Regions from separate parts of the Homo sapiens genome. Here region 1 is linked to region 2. The links are contacts of gene promoters, found by promoter capture Hi-C in human tissues and cell types (Jung and others, 2019). All regions are on one chromosome and are shown on one strand. The core of a region is centred on a gene start or on the middle of the fragment in contact, and the rest is flanking DNA. Distances in the headings are between cores, read along the strand shown. Region 1 has its middle 3.6 kb from the start of FBXO10. Region 2 holds the start of MELK (maternal embryonic leucine zipper kinase).

Evidence for each region. Contacts are between HindIII fragments. The study calls those that stand out against the background at their distance.
Region 1: a fragment that was not itself captured here is called in contact with the fragment with the promoter of MELK in region 2 in 1 of the 25 tissues and cell types used here (lymphoblastoid cells).

Annotation. Positions count from the first base shown.
Region 1 is chr9:37,578,677-37,581,376 of GRCh38, reverse strand. No RefSeq gene overlaps it. Among named protein-coding and RNA genes, the nearest start is that of FBXO10, 3.6 kb to the right of the region's middle. The HindIII fragment of the contact is 3,211 bases long and covers 1-2,700 here.
Region 2 is chr9:36,571,459-36,574,158 of GRCh38, reverse strand. It overlaps MELK (maternal embryonic leucine zipper kinase), which reads right to left and starts at 1,264. Exons shown (of 18, transcript NM_014791.4): 1 at 1,152-1,264. RefSeq lists a silencer at 1,183-1,462 and an enhancer at 2,046-2,545. The HindIII fragment of the contact is 26,418 bases long and covers 1-2,700 here.

The sequences.
Region 1 (2,700 bases), core at 115-2,614, 1.0 Mb before region 2:
TGCAACAGTAGGCTATTAGTAGTTAAGTTTTTGGGGAGTCAAAGTTACATGCAGATTTGTGACTGTGCAGGTGTCGGGGCCCCTAACTCCCACGTTTGTTCAAGTGCGGGGTATTTTCATTTCCACTTAAGTATATAGAGGCCAAAAATGCAAAAAAGAAAGAAACTATTACATAAACAGATGTACAAAGATAATACTGCATTTGAAATACAGTCACTTGAAATGTTCACTAATCAGCTTACATATTCAAGTATAAATTCGGTGAACAAAATGATTTAGGGACAGCGATATGTAATGTAAAAATTGTGGGTTGTTGGAAAGTAGAGATCTGTCTACATGGAAAGAATACTAGAATTAGGATTTCAATGTCCTAGATTATAGTTTCAGCTCTGCTATTTATCATGTGACTATGTGAGTCAGATTTTTTAGTTGCAAACACCAAAATCCAATTTTGACAGAAAAAGAAAAGTATTTTATTAAAAGGATAACAGGGAGTTCAGTATCACCAGGAGGCCTAGAGAATTAGGCTTGGAGAGTAGGCAACTGGAACATCACCCTTTGTTCCTTGGTCATACTCCACAGAGCTGGGGCAGTGAGGACGCCATTTCTGCTGAACATTAGGTGCCACCACTTACTTTGCCAAAGCCACATGCACAGAACCCTGGATCATGGCAGCCAGTGTTGCTCTAAGAACTTGCCGCACTTGCCATGGTCCCAGAGAAAATTATTCCAGAGACTTTATTGTGTCTCTGGTACTTAATTCAAAATCAAGAGTAATTTGTAGCATGATAGAATCACAAGGAGAAGCAGAGAAAATACCTGGAATTTCCACTTCTATAGTGAAAGGCATGTTCTGCTTCCCAGCAAACTCATAAACAAGGAATTCCCAAATGTAGGAAGGGACCTCAGATGCTGGGCAGCCAAAAAGCATGGCATGTCCACTATGTTGACCTGGGACACCACTCTGTGTGAGCCTACTTTTTCTGGAAAGCAAAGTAAATAAAGCTCCCATGGCTGAGGAGATTTTGTGTGTTCACTTATACATTTGCCAGTAAACACCAGCCAGGTGCCAGTGTATAAAGATGAGTAAGTTTCCTCTCGAGTCTAATGGTAGGATAGAGGCATGCAGAGGTGAGATGAGGGCAGAAAGAAGAGAGGGCTCAACTGTAGTTTGTGAATGATGTTCTTATATTTAAGTAGTTATATTTTTGGCTGGGCGCATTGGCTTACACCTGTAATCCCACCACTTTGGGAGGCCGAGGCAGGTGGATTACCTGAGGTCAGGAGTTTGAGACCAGACTAATCAATATGGTGAAACCCTGTCTCTACTGAAAATGCGAAAGCCTGTAGTCCCAGCTACTTGGGAGGCTGAGACAGAAGAATCGCTTGAACCCAGGAGGTGGAGGTTGCAGTGAGCTGAGACTGAGCCACTGCACTCCAGCCTGGGCAACAGAGCGAGACTCTGTTTCAAAAAAAAAAAAAAAAAAAAAAAACCCCTGGCCAGGTGTGGTGGCTCATGCCTGTAATCCCAGAGCTTTGGGAGGCTGAGGCGGGCGAATCACCTGAGGTCGGGAGTTTGAGACCAGCCTGGCCAACATGGTGAAACCCCGTCTCTACTAAAATACAAAAATTAGCTGGGCCTAGTGGCTGGTACCTGTTAATACCAGCTACGGGGGAGGCTGAAGCAGGACAATCGCTTGAACCTGGGAGGTGGGGGTTGCGGTGAGCCAAGATCATGCCATTGCACTCCAGTCTGGGCGACAAGAGCAAAACCCCATCTCAAAACAAACAAAAATTCCCATGTGGCACGTGATGCTTGCCCCACTAATAGGGAAGACAGCTTGCTCTTGTAGGACACTGCTGTAGCACTTTGAAAGTCAGCTGTTTTATACAAATACCAAAATGATAATGTTAGCTGGCACAAATCCAGAAACTCAAGCTTTTGATTGTTTATTGACAGTCATATCTGGACTGCCAGTTTCATGGAGTAAGATACTTTTCAAAGGATTAAATATGGCATAGCTTTGTCAGTCAGCAAGGTAAATCATCAGGCTCATTGCAGTGTGAGACTACCCCTGTGGTCTTTCTACTATACCTAGCTACTGTACAACTTTGTGTCTTAAAATAAATTGTTGGCTTTAGGTTTTAGTGTTTGGTTTTCTTATTTATAAAAGAGACCAGCTACATGGTAACTTAGACCTCACCCAGAATCATACCACATTCACCATATGGTAATAATAGATGGAATACATTTTTATGGAATATATTCTATAGAACCAGGGACTGAAAAAGGTCAGTAGGACCACGGGGTCAATTATTTCAGGCCACAATTTCGTGTAATAATTTCTTTTTCATAGTATTCTTGGTAAATTATGTTTCTATAGCTGATATTCTCTCGTAAATTCCGGAGGTCTGTATCCAACTCCTTTTCTTTTTTAGAGACAGGGTCTTGCTTCGTTGCCCAGGTTGGTCTCAAACTCCTGGGTTCAAGCGATCCTCCTGCCTCAGCCTCCTGAGTAGCTGGGATTACAAGTGAACTGCTTTTTTTTTTTTTTTTTTGAGACACAGTCTCACTCTGCCACTCAGGCTGGAGTGCAGTGGCGCACGATCTCTGCTCACTGCAACCACCACCTCCCAGGTTCAAGCGATTCTCCTGCCTCAGCCTCCTGATAGCTGGAATTACAGGCACGCGCCACCACA
Region 2 (2,700 bases), core at 15-2,514:
GGACAGACCCTTGGGAGAAACAAGCCCACGAAGGCCCAGTAAGGGCTTTTCTGATTTTTCTGATTTTCTAGCCAGACTCCATGGGAAACAGAAACCAAAATTTAAACCAAAGTTAGGAACACTGGCCTCTAAACAACAATCCAGGCTCCTGATACTCACCTCATTCCACTAACAAAGGAGAAATACCAAAGGTAATTACCCGTCCTAAGTGCTAGGGACCTGATTCCTCTCTTGGGCAGCCTTCCCTGAGTCTACCCTTTCCAGCTCCCACAACCCTACACCAGGTTTCTTGGTGGGAGCAATCCTGCTGCTCCTATTACTGATACAGCATTCGGTGAAAATTCCCCTTTTAGGCCGGGCGTGGTGGCTCACGCCTGTAATCCCAGCACTCTGGGAGGCCAAGGCGGGCGGATCACCTGAGGACACGAGCTGGAGACCAGCCTGGCCAACGTGGTGAAACCCCGTCTCTACTAAAAATACAAAAAATGAGCCGGGCGTGGTGGCGGATGTCTGTAAGCTCAGCTACTCGGGAGGCTGAGGCAGAAGAATCGCTTGAACTTGGGAGGCGGAGGTTGCGGTGAGCCGAGATCGCGCCATTGCACTCCAGCCTGGGCAACAAGAGCGAAACTCCGTCTTGAAGAAAAAGAAAAAAAATTCCCCTTTTAGTGTGAGCCTCTGAAGCCACTACTCTGGGGAGATGATAGGAGAGGATGGATTTGGACTCTGAAAAGGTAGTGATAACACATCTCCTTTTTTATTGCACTGCCCCAGTAAACTGAGTTGTACAAACAGAAAAAACTCGAAACCCTTCTGTCAACTTTTTTCGCGGGGAAGAGTCACGGAAACTGGAAACGGGAAATGGGAATTCACGTCTATCGCAGCCTCCTAGGTGGCAAACGCTTAGCCTGAACACCTCTTCAATAACCCTGTTAAGTAGACACGGTCATTATCCCCACTTACGGAGAAGAAAACCGCGGGTCGGAAAGGTCAAATATCTTATCCAGGGAACAGGGCTGGTAAAGCGCGGGGCTCCGATGAAATCCTCCAGTCTCCCGAGAGCCAGGAGCAAACTGGGTTTGGGCCGCTGCGCCCCGCACAGCCCAGACCCCAGCCATCAACTGCGACTGCGGCGGGCAGGCGGGAGAACTGACCTGAGGGGCGGAGGGCACGGCTGAGCGGCGCCCGACAGAAGGACAGGGGCCTGCTGTCCTGAGAGACGCGGCTGGTACGGCGTTCCTAAGAATCTTTTCGATCGCCGGGTTGTGGCCGCTTCCGCCCGCCAAGGGAATCAAATCTCCCGGGCCGGAAGGGGCGGGGACGCGGCGGGGGCGCGCGCGGCGCCGGATCCCAGGGAAGCGGACGCGCACGGCAGGCGGGGGCGCGCACAGTGCCGGGGGGTTCTCACCGGGGCAACGGCTCGCGGTCGCTGTGGAGCCGTGAAAGGGATGGCCGGGAGGTCCACTGGGCTGCGAGGGGTGACTTGAGGCCTTGGTCTTGCCCCGGAGGGCACGTGATGATTTTCCAGGTGGCGTGGATATGCCAAGTCTCCACAGAACCCAACTTTCTTACGTTCTCTTCCTAAAATTGACGTGCCCTCTGGCAGTCACAGTTCTCATTTTCGTCCTCCCTTGCCCACTGGCCGTTCTCCCACCCAGCAAAGACAGGAATACCTCCCCCTCTCCAAAATGTGTTGCCACGAGGAATAAGAACCCCAGTAGCTGAGACTACAGGCACGCGCCACCACGCCTGGCTAAATTATTTGTGGGTAGAGACGGGATCTCGCTATGTTGGCCAGGCTGGTCTCGAACTCCTGGGCTCAAGCGATCCTCCCGCCTCAGCCTCCCAAAGTGCTGGGATTACAGGCGTGAGCCACTGTATCCGGCCCAGAAAATCTTTAGACAAATTAAACTTTACAGAGTTGAATTGACCAAAGAATGAGTCCAAAATCCAGTAATCCCTGGAACCAAAATAGGTTCAGAGTGATTCGGGCTGCCATATGTTCAAATAACATTTATGGACAGAAAAAGGAAAATGACTTACAGAAATTGCAGTCAAGTATGGAAACAGCTGGATTGGTTGCAACTCAACCTCTGACTATTTTGAGCACTGTTTAAACAGTTGGCCACCTGTGATTGGCCAAAACTCCGCTGCTGTGATTGACTGAGACTCGCTACTTGTTACAAGGTTACAGTCTCTTTACACATTTACAATTGTAGTTGTCTACAATTCACTATGTATGGAGAAACTGTTAGGCCAGGTGCAAAGGCTCACATCTATAATCCCAGCACTTTGGTGGGGGGGCGGGGGCAGATCATTTGGGGTCAGGAGTTCGAGACCAGCCTGACCAACATGATGAAACCCTGTCTCTACTAAAAATACAAAAAATTAGCCGGGCTTGGTGGCGCGAGCCTATAATCCCAGCTACTCAGGAGGTAGAGGCAGGAGAATCTCTTGATTCTCTCTGCTGGGAGGCAGAGGTTGCAGTGAGTAGAGATCGTGCCACTGCACTCCAGGCTGGGCAACAGAGCAAGACTCCGTCTCAAAAAAAGAGAAAGAGAGAAAGAGAGAGAGAAAAGAAAGAAAGGAAGAGAAGGGGAAGGGAAGGGGAAGGGAGGGGAAGGGAGGGGAAGGGAAGGGAAGGGAAAGGAAAGGAAGGGAGAGAAAGGGAGAGAGAGAAAGAAATAAATTGTTAGTCTGAAC